Regions from separate parts of the Homo sapiens genome. Here regions 1, 3 and 4 are each linked to region 2. Evidence: promoter capture Hi-C in 16 types of primary human blood cells and fetal thymus (Javierre and others, 2016). All regions are on one chromosome and are shown on one strand. The core of a region is centred on a gene start or on the middle of the fragment in contact, and the rest is flanking DNA. Distances in the headings are between cores, read along the strand shown.

The links. The method cuts DNA at HindIII sites, captures the fragments that hold promoters and counts their contacts. A CHiCAGO score of 5 or more calls a contact.
Region 1: a contact is called between a fragment that was not itself captured here and the fragment with the promoter of TBX18 in region 2, in 1 of 17 cell types (endothelial precursors). The highest score is 19.2, in endothelial precursors.
Region 3: a fragment that was not itself captured here is called in contact with the fragment with the promoter of TBX18 in region 2 in 1 of 17 cell types (endothelial precursors); the score reaches 5.2 in endothelial precursors.
Region 4: a contact is called between a fragment that was not itself captured here and the fragment with the promoter of TBX18 in region 2, in 1 of 17 cell types (endothelial precursors). The highest score is 6.5, in endothelial precursors.

Annotation. Positions count from the first base shown.
Region 1 is chr6:84,417,639-84,422,053 of GRCh38, reverse strand. LINC01611 (long intergenic non-protein coding RNA 1611) reads left to right here. Exons shown (of 5, transcript NR_132100.1): 5 at 812-1,026. The region is part of intron 1 of LOC107986620 (a long non-coding RNA gene); the gene reads right to left. Among named protein-coding and RNA genes, the nearest start is that of LINC01611, 55 kb to the left of the region's middle. The HindIII fragment of the contact is 4,212 bases long and covers 1-3,626 here.
Region 2 is chr6:84,762,058-84,766,000 of GRCh38, reverse strand. TBX18 (T-box transcription factor 18) reads left to right here and starts at 1,403. Exons shown (of 8, transcript NM_001080508.3): 1 at 1,403-2,111; 2 at 3,253-3,457. The coding sequence starts at 1,820. It overlaps LOC124901353 (a long non-coding RNA gene), which reads right to left and starts at 3,660. Exons shown (of 2, transcript XR_007059666.1): 1 at 3,515-3,660. RefSeq lists enhancers at 1,196-1,490, 1,502-2,085, 2,086-2,670. The HindIII fragment of the contact is 3,607 bases long and covers 1-3,137 here.
Region 3 is chr6:84,491,187-84,495,180 of GRCh38, reverse strand. All of the region lies in intron 2 of LOC107986620 (a long non-coding RNA gene), which reads right to left. Among named protein-coding and RNA genes, the nearest start is that of LINC01611, 18 kb to the right of the region's middle. The HindIII fragment of the contact is 1,690 bases long and covers 683-2,372 here.
Region 4 is chr6:84,433,947-84,438,382 of GRCh38, reverse strand. The region is part of intron 4 of LINC01611 (long intergenic non-protein coding RNA 1611); the gene reads left to right. All of the region lies in intron 1 of LOC107986620 (a long non-coding RNA gene), which reads right to left. Among named protein-coding and RNA genes, the nearest start is that of LINC01611, 39 kb to the left of the region's middle. The HindIII fragment of the contact is 1,744 bases long and covers 593-2,336 here.

The DNA of each region.
Region 1 (4,415 bases), core at 271-2,770, 340 kb after region 2:
GGGTCGTTATCAGCTTAGAAAATTAGAAAATAAGGAACAGTACAGAACAGGATTAGAAAATTAGGAACAAAAGCAAGGCACTGTGAAATGGCAATTAAATTCTTGCTTGACTTAAATACCTTTCTTTTATAACAGCTATACATCCCTTCCATTTTTATCCCAGTGATTTCTTTTATCTAAAGTAAAAAGAACATTACCTTTCTTGAGTTCATTCCAAAATTGTTTTTTAGGGTAACATGGAATAATACAATTGAAAATTCTGTGTGTCAGTTTCATACCACATTAGCGGAATAGAAATGTGTTAATAATGTTAACTCTTAAGGCTATTTGTTTGCATCAACTTTTAAAAATGTTTAAATTGTTGTTACCTGTTTCAATATTAGTAAGTTCTCAAGACTCCCACACACAATGGAAAAAAATTCATTTACAAATGTAACAAGCCCCAGTAGAGGCATTTCTTCAGGCAATTCCCAAGGAAAAGAATTGGGACAAGGAGTCAGATGCAGGGGCCCCATCTAGCATTTCCAGATCTACACACCCCCTTTCTGTCAAAAATCTTCCAGGTGACTTCACAAATGGCTTTTACAGGTATAATTGGGGTGAAAACCAGCAACATTAGGTGAGGAGATATAAATTCCGTAAAGAAAATAAAAAGTCAAACAGTGGAAAACTTCCCAGGAAAGCACTTGGAAAAGTGGATAGGAAGAGTAGTTACATGGCAGTTTTCTGCCCGTCCCACCCTCCCTTCTAACGACTTCTTTTATGTCAACAGAACTGCCACTTTACTTATCTCAGGATTTCTCTTTTTCAGGAATGGTGATGGTATGAAGAAAGTATTTTTAATGAGCAGAGCCATTGTTTGCTCTGCTCTGTCCTCACCCCTCAAGAGAATTTCCCTTATTATTATGAAAACTTTTTATCTTAAAAGATATTACATGTTAATGGAACTGTCGTTTAACAAATGTTTTATAAGTGTACCAATCAAGCACATTGTCGAAATAAAAGATATGAAATAAGTGAAAAAAAGTCTTTTTTATACTTTATAGTCCAATTTAACACTGCTATCTTTTTAAAAACTGCAGAATATAGCATACACAGGGAAGTATTTACTGTGTAAAGAATAATAATAAAATAAACTCACATGTAACCATCTGATTAAGAAAGAAGACATCTCTCCACTTTGGAAGTTCTCTACTGCCCCTTCTTCTCTACAGTAACCTTTATCCTGACTTCTGTGACATTCCTTCTCTTGTTCTTCTTCTTGTTGTTGTTTTTAAAATATAGTATTACTACCCAGGTAAGTATAAACCGAATTATTCTGCATGTTATCTGCTGACCTTTCAATGCCACTTGGAAGGAGAAATCTGTCTCCTCCAAGGTGTAATTTGTAGAGACGTCATCATGTACTCCCACCTTTTTCCTATCCAAAAGACTCAAGTTTCCCAAGACCCACATCCCTTTCCTAAGAAGACTTCAGTGCTCTTAATTCCAGTTTACCCTGTGAGATTCTTAAGCTGTAGATGATGGAGTGCATGTGGATAGCTAATAACCAGTGCATTCTATGGATGCTCTGAAAATGCCTGCCCTGAGTCTAGGCTAATATGTAGGAAAAGTGGGTGGACAAATGTTGTTTAATTTCAAAGCATTAGACCCATCATTCTGTTATCTCAAAATATGTCTCAAAATCAGGCTAATGCCCAAGTGTTATAATTTGGAGCTTTATTGCTTCGACCTAACACTGTGTTTTGAAAGATGCCCTCAGATGGGCATCCTCATCTGCTTTATCAACTGTGCATTCTTTATTGTAAAAGAAGGTCTTAGGCTGGTTTCTGGGATCATGTTTTCAAAGGGGACATAGGTGAGGCTATCAGTACAGAAGGGATCAGTAATGGGACCTCTTGAGGATCTGCCACTTGATGACTGAATAGCCACGCCAGGTAGAAAAGTACTTTGAACCTAACGTGCAGGGGACCTATTGTGCTGCAGCTTTGAATAGTGGTGGTGTTTGATTGTGATACATGCTGGCCTCCTGAGTCAGGTGGCACAAGAGCAAGTTTCCTTCCCAAGTCTCTTCTGGAGTTTTGCTTCAAAAAGAAACCTATAATCCATGCAGAAGGTCAGCGACTGGAACAGTGTTAAAAGAAAACTACTGAAAGAATTTGCCAACACCTTGGACAGACTAACCCAACAAACATCACCTACTCTAGTAAACACACTAAAGCCTCCTGCAAAAGAATTGTATGATGTTTTTATTTGCAAGGTATGCCTAGGAATGTCAGAAAAGAATTTTTCCAGCACTACACAGTCTCTTGTACTGCCCCAGAGCCTTAGCTTGATTTAGATTTGGAAACAAAATATTATATCCATATCAAGCCCCACTAGACAGAGTCCTCTGGGATCAACAATGTCACTGAAATTGGAGCTTGTCTCCTAAATTTCCTATCTAGTCCTGCCTTAAATCCTTCTACTAAATTTCACTCCTACAGATAATGAGAGTTAGCATACAGCACAAGCAAAAATGGTGTGCAGAAGTCAAGGACCATGATTTGCATAGGTGTGCTGATAAAACAATAAATTTCTGTTTCTGTACCCCAAAAGTCTTGGTACATTGAACAGGTAAAACCCAAAGATTCTTGTTTAATCCAGAAAACCCAGGACTTCTATGGACTGGCCTTCAATTGAGCCCTTGTACCACAGTTCCTAACCTTGACTGTGCATTGGAATCACCTGGGGAACTTTAAAACATACCAATTTTTGTGTTCCACTCTCAGAGATTCTGATCTAATTGGTCTATAATGCAGCCCAGGTGGGTACTGAGAGGTTCAAAGACACCCCAGGTGATCCTAATGTACAGTCAGGATTGGGAACTGCTGAGCTAATCACTGCAAAATTGACCACATTTTATGGTCTGAATCAAGGACAATAGAGGTAGAAGGTGCAGGGGTTTGTTCCCAGGCTCTGGGTTAAATTGTGACAACCCCCTCCCCCAAAAAAGATATGTTTATGTCTTACTCCTCAGAACCTGTGAATATGACCTTATTTGGGAAAAAAAAAAAGAGTTTTGTAGGTGTGATTGAATTATGGATCTCAAGATGAGATGATCCTAAACTTTCGCGAGGGTCCTAAATTCAAAGACAAGTGTCCTTAAAAGTGGAAGATAGAGGGAGATTTGGGATGGAGACTGAGGAGAAGGCCATTTCAAGAGACAGAGATTGGCATTAATCAGTCACAAACCAAGGGACACCTGAAACCAGCAAACGCTGGAGGAGGCAAAGAAAGGCTCTCCCTGAGAGCCTCTGGAGGGAGTGCAGCCCATACATATCTTCGTTTTGGACTTGGCCTCAGAATGGTGAGAGAATAAATTTATGTTGTTTTAAGTCACTCAGTTTGAGATAATGTTATGGCAGCCCTAAAAATCTAATACATTGTTCAATGGCTTTATTCGTATTATCACATTTAATCTTCACAAAAATCCCTATGAGGGAGGTATTATTATCCCCATTTTAGAGATGAGGAAGCTAAGGCTAAGAGAGATTGAACAGCTTGTTCCAGAGGCAGAGCTAGTCGTGGTACAACTGGCTTGACCAGAGCCATGCTGAGTGGCATAAAACTGAGAACGTGAAGCTTCCAGAATGTTAACTGGCCACCTTGACTTGGATCCAATAAGTCTAAACACATCCTGGTTCGAGTCCCCCATCTCAATCTTAAGGCCAATATGCTTCATCTTTAAAATAATTTTTAAATGCGGTTTGTGTGAATGGTTCTCTGTTCATACACATTCAAGTATACAGTTGGAATTAGATACCTAGAAGAAGGATGTTAAAATTCATACACTGTTGCTGTTATGAAGATTCCCCAAGCCTTAGGAAACTGTCACATCTGTGCTTGTTTAGTGGTCTCTAAAATTACTAGATCTGGGCTTGATGTCTCAATTCAAGTACAATTCAAAACTTGAATTGTACTTCTAGCTCACCTTCTAATATTTGGGATCTACCACTCGACTTTCTGTATCTCAGCTTCCTTATCTATAAAATAGCCGTGAAAACTGTCTACCTCTCAAGGTTATGTGTGTGAAAATGCTTCGAAAACAATAAAGCTCTCTACAGATGTACATTGTGAGTGTGTCTGCCATGGTTACTGCTGAAAGCCATATAGGCTCTGTGATTTAAAAAACTATGGACGGTGGGCCGGGCACGGTGGCTTATGCCTGTAGTCCCAGCACTTTGGGAGGCCAAGGTGGGTGGATCACTTGAGGGCACGAGTTCGAGATCAGCCTGGCCAACATGGCGAAACCCTGTCTCTACTAAAAATACAAAAATTAGCTGGGTGTGGTGGCAGGCACCTGTAATCCCAGCTACTTGGGAGGCTGAGGCAGGAGAATCGCTTGAATCAAGGAGGCACAGGTTGCATGAGCC
Region 2 (3,943 bases), core at 154-2,653:
ATATATATATATATATATACACACACACACATATGGAGACAGAGAGAGAGACAGAGACGGAGTCTTGCTGCGTCGCCAGGCTGGAGTACAGTAGCGCGATCTGGGCTCACTGCAACCTCCGCCTCCCGAGTTCAAGCGATTCTCCTGCCTCAGCCTCCCGAGTAGCTGGGACTACAGGCGTGCACCACCACGCCCAGCTACTATTTGTATTTATTTATTTATTTAGTAGAGACGGGGGTTTCACCATGTTGGCCAGGATGGTCTCGATCTCTTGACCTCGTGATCCGCCCGCGTAGGCCTCTCAAAGTGCTGGGAATACAGGCGTGAGCCACCGCGCCCGGCCTGCCGTGTATTTTATACAAAAGATGGAGTAATATGCACGATTAATTTTATTCCACAAGAGATTTGCTCTATTTATACCAAACATATATATATATATTTGTTAATCCTAACAAAAAGTCGAGTTGAAACTACAAAACAAATTGTACAAATATATATGTTTGGTGTCATTTAATTAAAAAGCACTGATTTTATTAAATTTGTTTTAAATACATCAATGGACTCCTTAAAAGCCTGAAGTAACGATTGTAAATTGTCAACAGTAGGACAAATATAAACTTACTTAAATCACAGAGAAGTTTTTCAAATGGGGAATTTTATTGCGTCTTCATACTTATTTCATTTTGCGAAGTTTTAAGGGGTTTTAAAGTTGTCCATATCGTTAAAGACGTACAGAATGAAAATCCCATGACCTACGTTTTAAAATAACTACCACTCTTTGAAAGAAAAGGTGGGCTGCGGAAAGGGCGTGCTTTTTCTGACATTTATATGACGGACTGAGCGTTAACGTAACATTTTGCACTCCTAAAGGATTTACATATTTCTTAACCTGGTATCCCCTAAGAAAAAAATCACGGAGTAAAGTTTAAATAAGCCTAAGCCATATCTGGCGCAGACTGAGTGCAGGAACATTTAAATGAGAAAGGAGGGGCCTGCGAATTCTTCCCAGCTTCCCAATATTCTGAGTTGTAGCAACATTAAGCGATACGGAAGTGGGACGGCAATTTACGGAACCTTGAAAGATTCCTGATTTTCTAACTTGTTGAACGTCTAGTTTAAAGCCGGGAACTTCCGCCTTTCCAGGTCCTGGTGAGGAAAGCTGGAGACTACGGGGCTGGACTCAGCTACGGACGTCAGAGAGACAGAGTTCAGCGTCCGTGTGGCTGGCACATCCAAGCCAGACAGCGGCGCTTTTCACTCCTGGTTTTTCGCTACCTTGTAAGGAAGTGGGCGCGGGCTGCGCGGAGTCGGCGCCTCCTGATTGGCCGGCCGTCTGGGTGATGGACAGGGACCCGGGCTCCGCCCCCGCCGCTTTATTGACACTAATGAGCAAGTTCTTCCCACCGCTCTCCTGCCTGGAAGTGCTGACAGATCAAGGCAACAAATTTCAATTACAATCCCTAATTTGTGTCCACAGAGTGTTTTTTACCCATGTTAGTCCTCTCTGGCGCATCAGTTGAGGCAGACCTCGGAGCAGCAGGAGGAGGTGGAAGGGGTGGGAGCAAAGGAGTGCATCAGTGAGAGAGCGCGCGAGAGAGACCCAGGAAAGGAGACTTGGCCGGCGCGTCGCCGGTTCCTGGATCCCAACACAAGCGAGAAAGCGGAAACGCCAAATCTGTTTTTTGCCCGCGGTGGGGAAGGGGGCAGATCTCGGGAGGCCCCGAGAGCCTTTTAGTTTTTGGTGGGGGAAGAGCGAGAGCGCGCGTGTGCCCGCGTGAGTGTATATGAGAGAGGGGCGGGCGGGCGCGGGGCGGGGGGGATGGCCGAGAAGCGAAGGGGCTCGCCGTGCAGCATGCTAAGCCTCAAGGCGCACGCTTTCTCGGTGGAGGCGCTGATCGGCGCCGAGAAGCAGCAACAGCTTCAGAAGAAGCGGCGAAAACTGGGCGCCGAAGAGGCGGCGGGGGCCGTGGACGACGGAGGCTGCAGCCGCGGCGGCGGCGCGGGCGAAAAGGGTTCTTCTGAGGGAGACGAAGGCGCTGCGCTCCCGCCGCCGGCTGGGGCGACGTCTGGGCCGGCTCGGAGTGGCGCAGACCTGGAGCGCGGAGCCGCGGGTGAGTGGGCCCCTTCCTGCCTATAACTTCTCTCCGGCGCGAACCTGAACTTCTGCGAGTCTGTGGGTGTGCGTGCGCGCCGCGTCCCTACATGGCCAAGGCCACTCAGCCACTAGCGCATTGGCCGTGTCAGTCGCAAAGCTCGCCGCGCAACCTGGTCACCCTCCAGACGGTTCAGATACTGCTTCCAGGCTCGCCTCGCGGGCGGCCGCCGCCCACTCGGCGACCCGCGCCTTCGGCCGCGGCTGTTTGCTGCGCCTAGCGGTGCAGCTCTGTGCTTCCTGCATCTGCCTCCCTTGGGGTTCCAGCCAATGGGTGCTCTTTTTTGTTTCCTAACTTTTAAAAGCACAGGGCGGGGAGGAGGGGAGCGACGGCATACCCCACCCTGAAACCGGAACGAATGCCCTAAACCGTTTGTGCAAACCAGGAAGAGGGCGGCATATTTGGAAACTTGGTTTCCCGAAGGGTAGTTGAGCGGTTCCCTTCCCTTCTCCTCTTGATTTCTCTGCCAAGGCCGACGGCGACCGCGGGCTTGCTTTTCACACTTTTCTCTGCTGGGCTGGAAGCGCAGGGCGCCGGGAGTTTGGCGAAAGCGGGGTCTGAAGAGCCTTCTAGAAGATGCCTCCGGCCCGGCCCAAAAGAAGGCCCAAAGCGAGGCGCCGCAGACGCTTATGGCTTAAGGAGGCCCAGGCTCTTGGGACCAGAGTCCGGGCGCTTTTGCTGCTTGCGCTTCGAGGCGCAGGTTGCGTCGGAGTTTGCACTGGGGACTCTGGACCCGGGAGCTCCTCTGACTCCGTCGGGCAAGCGTCCCAGACCCCGGCGGCGGCGTGAAGCCTTTTCTGCTGGGGCCTTGGCCCTGCGGAGGCCCAGCGGGTGGGGTGGACGCTGCCCGCGCGCCTCTCCCGGGCTTGGGACTTGGGGACCAAGCAGGCCACACTGGAGCTCTGAATGCGCCCCTTCGACAGGCAGAATGTGGGTGTCTATCGACTGGCTTGTTCTTTAGGAGGACCTGATGGCACCAAAGCTTCCCCTTTTCTCCCGGTCATTTTCCTCTTCTCAGCCACCAGGTGGGCCCGTCTCCGCGGCTGGCTTCCCCTCTGTTTCCCTCACCAGTTCCCTTTCTCTGTCCTTTGCTGTCCAGGCGGCTGTGAGGACGGCTTCCAGCAGGGAGCTTCCCCTCTGGCGTCACCGGGAGGCTCCCCCAAGGGGTCTCCGGCGCGCTCCCTGGCCCGGCCCGGGACCCCTCTGCCCTCGCCGCAGGCCCCGCGGGTGGATCTGCAGGGAGCCGAGCTCTGGAAGCGCTTTCATGAGATAGGCACTGAGATGATCATCACCAAGGCCGGCAGGTAATGGGCAAGCTGGCGTGGACGCCCCTCCCTACCCCAGACCCTGTCTTCACTCACCTCTAGCTCAATCAGGAAGAAGGGCCTGCAGCTCGGTGGGGGTTCTGGATAGCATTTTCGGTCAAACGGGACCAGGCCCCAGACCGTGGTTCACTTTGGAGGCTAGCTTTGGCTACCCACCACTAGTGCAGTCGGTGCACAGTCCAACTGCCCTCTGGTTGAATGCCAGGGAGAAAATTACTGTCGCCGCTGATGCCACAGCTGTCGCGGTTGATGTTCTGCGTTCAGGGCGGTTATAAATTTGAGGTCATATTTACCCTTGTCCAGGTATTTATTTAGGCTCTAGTTGTCAGTTCTGGAACTAGGAAACATTCTTTTTTTTTTCCTTTCTCTTTTATTTTTAAACAGCAGTTTACTCCAGTAAACTATGATTTGCTTTTTCAGATTTGAAACTCCCAGGCAGATTGGTTCTTTATCAGAAGATATCCT
Region 3 (3,994 bases), core at 278-2,777, 270 kb after region 2:
TTTATTAGCAAAGTTTAAAATACATATCCATTCTACTTTTTCTTCCACTCCTACAGTACACTGTGCAGTCCTCTTGATCAGAGCTGAATGTGGCCCCTTGCAGACCATAGGCCACTGAAAAAAAAAAGACATGGTATCTGTCACCCCTACCCCATCCAGTCACAAATATACCTCCAACATGCAATGGCAAGGCAAAGCCAATTAACCTGCAATGAAACTCCCAATTGGAAAAAGAAAGGGGACACCTGGAATATATGCAGCAGTCAATGATCTGTAACAGTGATAAATCCTTCTGGGGAGAAGTTAGGAAGGGGTTGCAGTTTTTGGTAATGACAAGGTTGGTGACGACACAGAGATTAAGGTGGAGTAGGGACAAGATCACTAGAAGAAAGGAGTTTAAGGAACTGTAAGACCCAATTACCTGAAGAATCATCAACCTGGGTAACACTGTAAAAAACACCAGCCAGAAAAATGTTTAAAGGAAACTACTTTCATTTCTCAGGTGGACCAAGAGCCCAAGTATATGTGGTAAGGCACAGCATTCAGAGTGCTTGATCATGTGTTTCCTAATTTATATAAAAAGAGGTTCATCTAGGAAAAAAACTCATGCATACATTTACTCTCTTATAGTTTTGTTTCACTGCAAACTTATCTAGCATTCCCTGTCTCTCAACTTTAAGCTTTTGGAGACAGAGATGTACAGTACTCCTACCTTTTTCATTTTGGTGTCCCCAGGCTTAATACAACAGTAGACATTTAATAAACATGTGCTTGGAACTGAATGTAAGTTCATGAGAAAAGAATGTCACTAGCAACTTTGAAATCATCATTCTAAGAAATTTACACCAAGGTAATCTATTGTGAGAACATGAGGATTTTAGAAATACAATGTCAGAGGAGATATTCCCCTAGCAATGGCTATGTGGACTGGAAAGACTTTCACATTTACATTAGTTTGTTTTGAACAGTTCTGAAATTTTCAAATACATAAATCCATTTCCCACAATAACCAGTGTTTTGAAATGTCATCTGATTCCAACATGTCTTACTCTTACTTCAAAATCAGAAGACTTTGACCCTGCTTTAAGGACAAATGATGCTTGTTTTGATATCTTTATTTTTATTTCTAGGCAGGATGTGTCCTTTGGTATCAGAATTTCGCTAGTGTGGATGCAGTTGATTTCAGCAGTGCCCTGGTCGTCCTGTGAGAATGCTGCAGAAGTTATAGCACCCATCTGTTATGTTCTTATAGAACCTGGCCTGTCATACCCCTGGCTCCTCTTTTTACCATTCTTGCTCTGCCTACTCAGACATTCTTGGTCTTTCTTGAAAAAGTAGAATGCAAATATATCTTTCTTAGCCTTTCTCTGCCTCATTTGTTTCATGGTGAATTCTTGGCTTCCCCAATATTTTACGATAATCTCCACAAAGTAGAAAGGGATAGCTGGGAAGTCCAGGTTAAAATATCATGCTGGACAATCTAGATTTTATTTTCATTTTCATGGCTTGAATTACATAATTTCACTGTTAATTATCTTCTTCACACTCTAAAATATCTATCTAGCCTCAGAGTCCAATGCTTTTTCCATCATATTAGTCATTCTTCAAGATACCTGCAGAAGGAAATTTTCCATCTTTCCTAATGTGTAGCCAATGTGAGCCCATTGTTTAGGGTTATGTAGGAATCACTGAGCTCAGCCTGTTCGAGGTGGTTGGCCCTTGGCAGTCATCTATTTTGCTCCCTTCATTTAGCAGATGAGGGAACCAAAGCCCAAGAAAGATAGTGAGCTTATTCTCCATCACACAACTGGTAAGTACTGGAGTTGGGATCTTGACAATGCTACTTCTTCAAGCAGGCTTAAAATATTAAGGTTCAGGACTCTAAGTGGGCCCGCCTGGGAACCTGAGGACAGTTCCTAGTTGTTTAAATGGCCTTTCCATATTTCATTACCAACAGCTACAGCCCAAGTCTGAAAACTCATCTACAGCTATCTAACCTGCAACATGCTTTCCAGGCCCTCTCTGAGGGGGTTAGGGGAAGCTGGGGAGGGCACTGCACAAATAAACACAACAACACTGGCAGACTTTGGAGCTCTGCCTGAAGCAAAGCGCTGCCAGGAGTGAAAGTCATTAAAGACCCTTTGCAAAGGCTGTTAAGAAATGTGCAAACAGCCATATAAACAACACCAGGTCAGGTCATGGAAGGAGACTAGCAACTGGGGAGGCCCGAGAGAGCCTGCCGAAGTGGGAAATTCCCAGCAGGGAGAAGACATTTGGAAAAACAACTCCATCAGGTTTTATCAACACACATCATTTCCTAAGTGCTATATTTTATGTAGAGTATGTGTGGCCTAAATTTAACAAGAGAAGCTTTTATCAATTGCAGTTTTTATCACTTCCAGATATCTCCGTTTCTGAATTACTGGCAACATTGATGCTGTGTTCATTTATCTGGGCTTTCCTGTCCAAACACACCATGGGTGACGCTCTCGGAGAGACCATTTCGGTGGAGAGCAGCGATGACCTGCACACACACGCTTCCTGTTGGACATGCTGTGTTGTTCGGGCCCTACACATGCTGACACATGCTGAATTGTAAACAAACCTAATTAGGCCTGTTGTTCTAATTTTAAGCCTTAGATGAAACAGACATATTAATAATCACAGTGGTAGAGAAACTCCCGCATAAAGGCCATGTTATGAAATACGAGTTTCTCTGCCAGAGTAAAAACTTTGGCACTTCCTTCTTGAGGAAGCTGATGCTGGAGGAAAGTGATTTCACCCATAATTTCCTTGACCTTCTTGGGAATAGCATCAGTGGTCACAAACCTTTAAGGGAGTTGTGCTGAATGCAGAAAAATGATTTCTCCATGTCTGTGACTTTACCTACATGCGGAGAGCAATTATGTGAAGAACAGAGGGAAGTCTTGTTGTGCAGATGACTGCCAGTAGCCTAAATTTTTCTGCTTCTGCTTCTCCATCCAGATTCTTTCCTCTCTAGTCATTCAGGAAGCTCTTTCTGACTGGCCTACCTTCTATTTTTCTCCTGCCAAGATTTTCTTCTTCGCCTTCTTTGCACACACACACACACACACACACACACACACACACACACGGCCATTTTTTCAGCCTGGTTGTTCAGCTTTTGCTCTAATTTAGGAGGACTGACTCTCTGAGTACATTCATCTGGACTCCTGGAGCCTCAGACATATACATGGAAGTTTCTTCCACAGCAGTGTCCTTGTTGTCTGTCATATTAAATAAAAACAAAAGCCTTTTTTAAATATAAATAAATAGTATTAAACTTTGGAATGTACTGAAAGTAGCTGGAGAAATTTGCACTGAATTTAGATGGTATGTTTGAGCTGCTCTGATTTAAAATCTAGACTGTGTACCCCATGAGGAATTTCCCTGTGGATAGACCTCAGAGAGACATGCCGTCACCCTTCAGGACAGCTGAAAGCAGAGTTCATTGAGGGGCCAGGCTGTTATGGATGCTCTTGAAAGAGAAATAAATCAGGGGTCTTCCCCATGAGTCCTGACTGAAAGTCACGACAGATTTTCAGAAAAGAAGGCATTACTTTGTAATCAAGCTGCTTTTCACAAGTTCAACTCTCTGTGGCTTTCACCAGGGGTGTAGAATTAGGGTTTAATTTGTTTAGCAATGAGTTTTTCTTCACCTGTGTAATGCAAGCTGGGATCAGCATTGGACAAGTATAGCCTGCGTGGCACATCATGTTTTTCTTCTCGTTCCACTTGGCACAGGAACTGGTTACTCTTCCAGAGACCCACATTATCAGTCAAACACTCTTAATTATCTCGTCTAGAGAAAATTTAGGGCTGGATGCAGTGGCTCACACCTGTAATCCCAGCACTTTGGGAGGCCGAGGTAGGTGGATCACCTGAGGTCAGGAGTTCGAGACCAGCCTGACCAACATGGTGAAACCCCATCTCTACTAAAAATATAAAAATAAGCCAGGCATGGTGGTCGGTG
Region 4 (4,436 bases), core at 215-2,714, 330 kb after region 2:
AGTAGAAAATCAGGTCAGCCATTGAGAGGGAGAGGTAGGTATTGGATCAAGAGCCTATGGTGATAGCTCCAGTAAGAAACCTCTGGAAGACTGGCAAATTGTCAGTTTGAACCTCTTGGTTCAAAATCCTCTCCTTGCTCTATCCACCAAGCCTATATTATAATCCTTATCCAGTACTAACAAACCTCCACCTCCCACACTGAAAGCTTCACCTTAAATCTGACTTCAAAAAGTCTATAAAGATTTCAACTTTGGCCAGGCGCAGTGTCTCACACCTGTAATCCCAGCACTTTGGGAGGCTGAGGCGGGTGGATCACTTGAGGTCAGAGTTCGAGACCAGCCTGGCCAACATGGCAAAACCCCGTCTCTATTAAAAATACAAAAATTAGCCAGGCGTCATGGCGGGCACCTGTAATCCCAGCTACTCAGGGGGCTGAGGTAGGAGAATCGCTTGAACCCAGGAGGTGGAGGTTGCAGTAAGCCAAGATTGCGCCACTGCACTCCAGCCTGGGTGACAGGAGACTCCATCTCTCTGAGATGCTAGTGAGCCTTACATACTGCTATCCTAACATGGTTAGCAATAAACTAAGCTTTCTCTTCTCCACAGATAGTTTTGGTAACATTCTTGGGAGTCAGCCAGCATTCAGTTATTATTTGTAACATAAATGAACAGAAGATACTTAGACTTTCCTTAGTGACTAGAGGCCAGCCATTGATATGATAATTGATTTCTAAAGATGGATTTTCAGAAATGGGAACGCTGAATAGTTTAGGATTCTTGATTAAATATATACATCTTACGTATGAGAAAACTGAGGCTCAACAAATGCAAATGATATGGTACAAAGTGATGAACAAATGGAAACCTGAAATGGGACCCCACAGTGCTTCTCTATAACCAAGGAAGCTGCTTTCTCTTCTCTTTGCCACTGGCTCTCTGCTACTCTGCTCACTAAACAGTAGTTTCCATTAGCAAGTCCACCTACTAGCAGCCCGGCTTCTACTCCATTAGGGATGTCCCCCTCCTTAAAAGACAGGCATGGGTGAGTCAGGGAGAGTCCTGTACCAAGAGGGGCAGTGCTTAGGGCTGACAGTTAAATCTGAAATATGTCAAAGATGGCAGGAAGAGTTCTAAACTCAAGCCAAAGAAGTCTGTCCAAATGAAGCTCTCTATCTACAGAGCCCTTTCCCCCTCCTCAAAAAAAAATTTCTCTGCTGAATATTGTTCTATCACTTTGCCTTTTTGCATTTCTTCGAAATAGCTCACTTCTCCTATTACCAATTAAAGTGCTGCTTTTGCTCATATTATTAGCCTAACCAATGATAGTGTTATGAGCACAGTATTTGTTTCATTTCTTTCACTCTTCAGGATAATTTAGTTGCTTTCTTGTTTTTGGTCTACAAAGACACTTTTTTTTTCCTTTTTTTTTTATTTTACTTTAAGTTCTGGGATATGTGCGCAGAATGTGCAGGTTTGTTACATAGGTATACATGTGCCATGGTAGTTTGCTGCACCTGTCAACCCATCATCTATGTTTTAAGCCCTACATGCATTAGGTGTTTATCCTAATGCTCTCCCTCCCCTTGGCCCCCACCCCCTGACAGGCCTCGGTGTGTGATGTTCCCCTCCCTGTGTCCATGTGTTCTCATTATTCAACTCTCACTTATAAGTAAGAACAAGTGGTGTTTGGTTTTCTGTTCCTGTGTTAGTTTGCTGAGAATGATGGCTTCCAGCTTCATCCATGTCCCTGCAAAGGACATGAACTCATTCTTTTTTATGGCTGCATAGTATTCCATGGTATATATGTGCCACAGTTTCTTTATCCAGTCTATCATTGATGGGCATTTGGCTTGGTTCCAAGTCTTTGCTGTTGTAAATAGTGCCGCAATAAACATACATGTGCATGTGTCTTTATAGCAGCATGATTCATAATCCCTAGGGTATATACCCAATAATGGGATTGCTGGGTCAAATGGTATTTCTAGTTCTATATCCTTGAGGAATCTCCACACTGTCTTCCACAATGATTGAACTAATTTACACTCCCACCAACAGTGTAAAAGCATTCCTATTTCTCCACATCCTCTCCAGCATCTGTCGTTTCCTCACTTTTTAATAATCACCATTCTAACTGGCGTGAGATGGTATCTCATTGTGGTTTTGATTTGCATTTCTCTAATGACCAGTGATGATGAGCTTTTTTACATATTTCTTGGCCACATAAATATCTTCTTTTGAGAAGTGTACAAAGACACATTTTTATCATTTGCTCTGCTTCTTGGATTTTTATTTCCTTATTTGCTATTATTCAGGAAATCTATAGCTACCTAAAGCTTGTTTTAATTTCTAAATAAGAAAGTTATTTGTCTCTCTGTCTCACAGTGATGAACACATACTTGGTATTCAGTAAATGCATCTTGGATCAGAAATTTTCTTTTGCCAGACATATATATATATATATATATATATATATATATATATATATATATATATATATATATGCCCTTGACCTATATAATCCATGCAACCAGATTGATAAATGCTGTAAGAAGAACTACCAATAACTACTAATAGCAATGTACAATGACAGAAAATTACTTTGTGTGAGCCATTGTTCTAAGATATTAACCTGGGTTAACTGATTTAATCCTTAAATCAACCGTGTAGGGGAGGGACTGTTACTAGCTTCTTTTTCAGAAAAGGAACATGAGACACAGAAAGGTTGAATAATCTGTCCAAAACAAAGCAACTGAAAAGTGGCAGGACTAGGATTTGAACCCAGACCATCTGCTTTCAGTCTCTTAACCACTGCACTATACTAAGGACCACTATTATTTTATGTGATTTGCAAATGTAAAAATAAAAACAAATTATATGTTTAAATTTGGAATTAATAGTTATTTTTTGGAATAGATTTGTTCATATAACTTTTCACAAATACATGGCCATTTTCTATTCAACAACTTTTAAAGAAAGATTGTATAATTCTGAAAAATGAAAGATAAACCAATAATTTTAAAATTCCATGAAATATTTTGTGTAAACCTATCTTGCTTGCACAAATGAATCAAAGTTCTTTCCTTACCTTTGACTAAACTTGACTTTCAGGATGATATACAAAGAGAAAATGTGATTTATCCTCTCAATTGGAGAAACTTAAAAGAAAATAGGATTCCAAACATTAATGACAGTGGCAGAAAAATTAGGAAGTGAATATCTTTGCATTTCTAAAAAAAAAGAATGCCCAACCAAGGAAAACTCCTGGGCTGCATTTCCCCTCAAATGTTGGGGTATGTTTTCTCCACCGCCATCCTATTTCCACCTGGGAAAGGAGGGAAATCTTGGCAAATGACTGTGAAAATCCATTTTATTCTTCTTGAAGTAAAATATGTCTTCTTTGTTCTTTAAGGCACTGCCTCTGTGCTTGTAATTCTTAACAATCCTTCCTTTACAGGGGCTCTTACTGGCATAGAAAATGGTTGTCAAGAATTCAAAACCATCACAAGTCATAAGAAATTATATTTGAGTGAGAAGCTGCTTAAATTGTTTCAAATCACCCAATTTCATGTAGTTGAGATGTGAACAGGGGAACAGAGGTGAAATGTAAGCTTTTAAAGGAATGTTAACTGCTATCATCAGGGAAAGATACATGTGTGTGCGTGTGTGTGTGTCTGTCTGTGTATACACACTACTGTCAGTAAAAATACGGATATGTTCTCTAGGATATATGGGGGAAAGCCAGATGGGAAAAGTGATGGAACAGAAAACAAAAGGCCAGACAATACGAAATCTCCGTTTAATAAACACAGCTGGGATGCAGCTGAAGTTGAGAAGACAGTGAAGCTACCTTTTTACTCACAAAGAAAATCTGCTAATAATAGAAGTAAAATTGAATATTTGGTGAAATTGACATTTTCATGCCAAGAAATAGGCATGATTATTTATTCCCAATAGCTTGTAGGATTTAGCATTAAAGAGAAATTGCAAGAATCAATGACTGTCTAAAGATAATGTCTACTGACTTGCATGGGAAACACATTGATATAAAAAGAGGAAATATGCAAACCTTTTGTAGTAATAAATGCATTCATAAAGGCAGCTATCAGAAATAACTCAATGCATTTGGGCATTTTAATGCATGCATAATATTCTTAATTAAGAATGATATGTATTTTTAATCTCAAAAATAAGATTTCTTTTACCTATTCTTTTATGACCAAATGGTTTATCTATGAGACAAGTCAGTTAAAAAAGTAGTTTCTTCTTGAAATATAGCCTCATATATGCAAAAGTTGTGACATTAGTAGATTTATAGATTTTAATTTAAATTAATTTGGGTTATTAAAATTTTGACTGGAATGCATGACATAATGCATCCTAATCCTAGCTATTATTCTGAGACATGAATTGGGTTTTCACTTACCTTGATAATTTA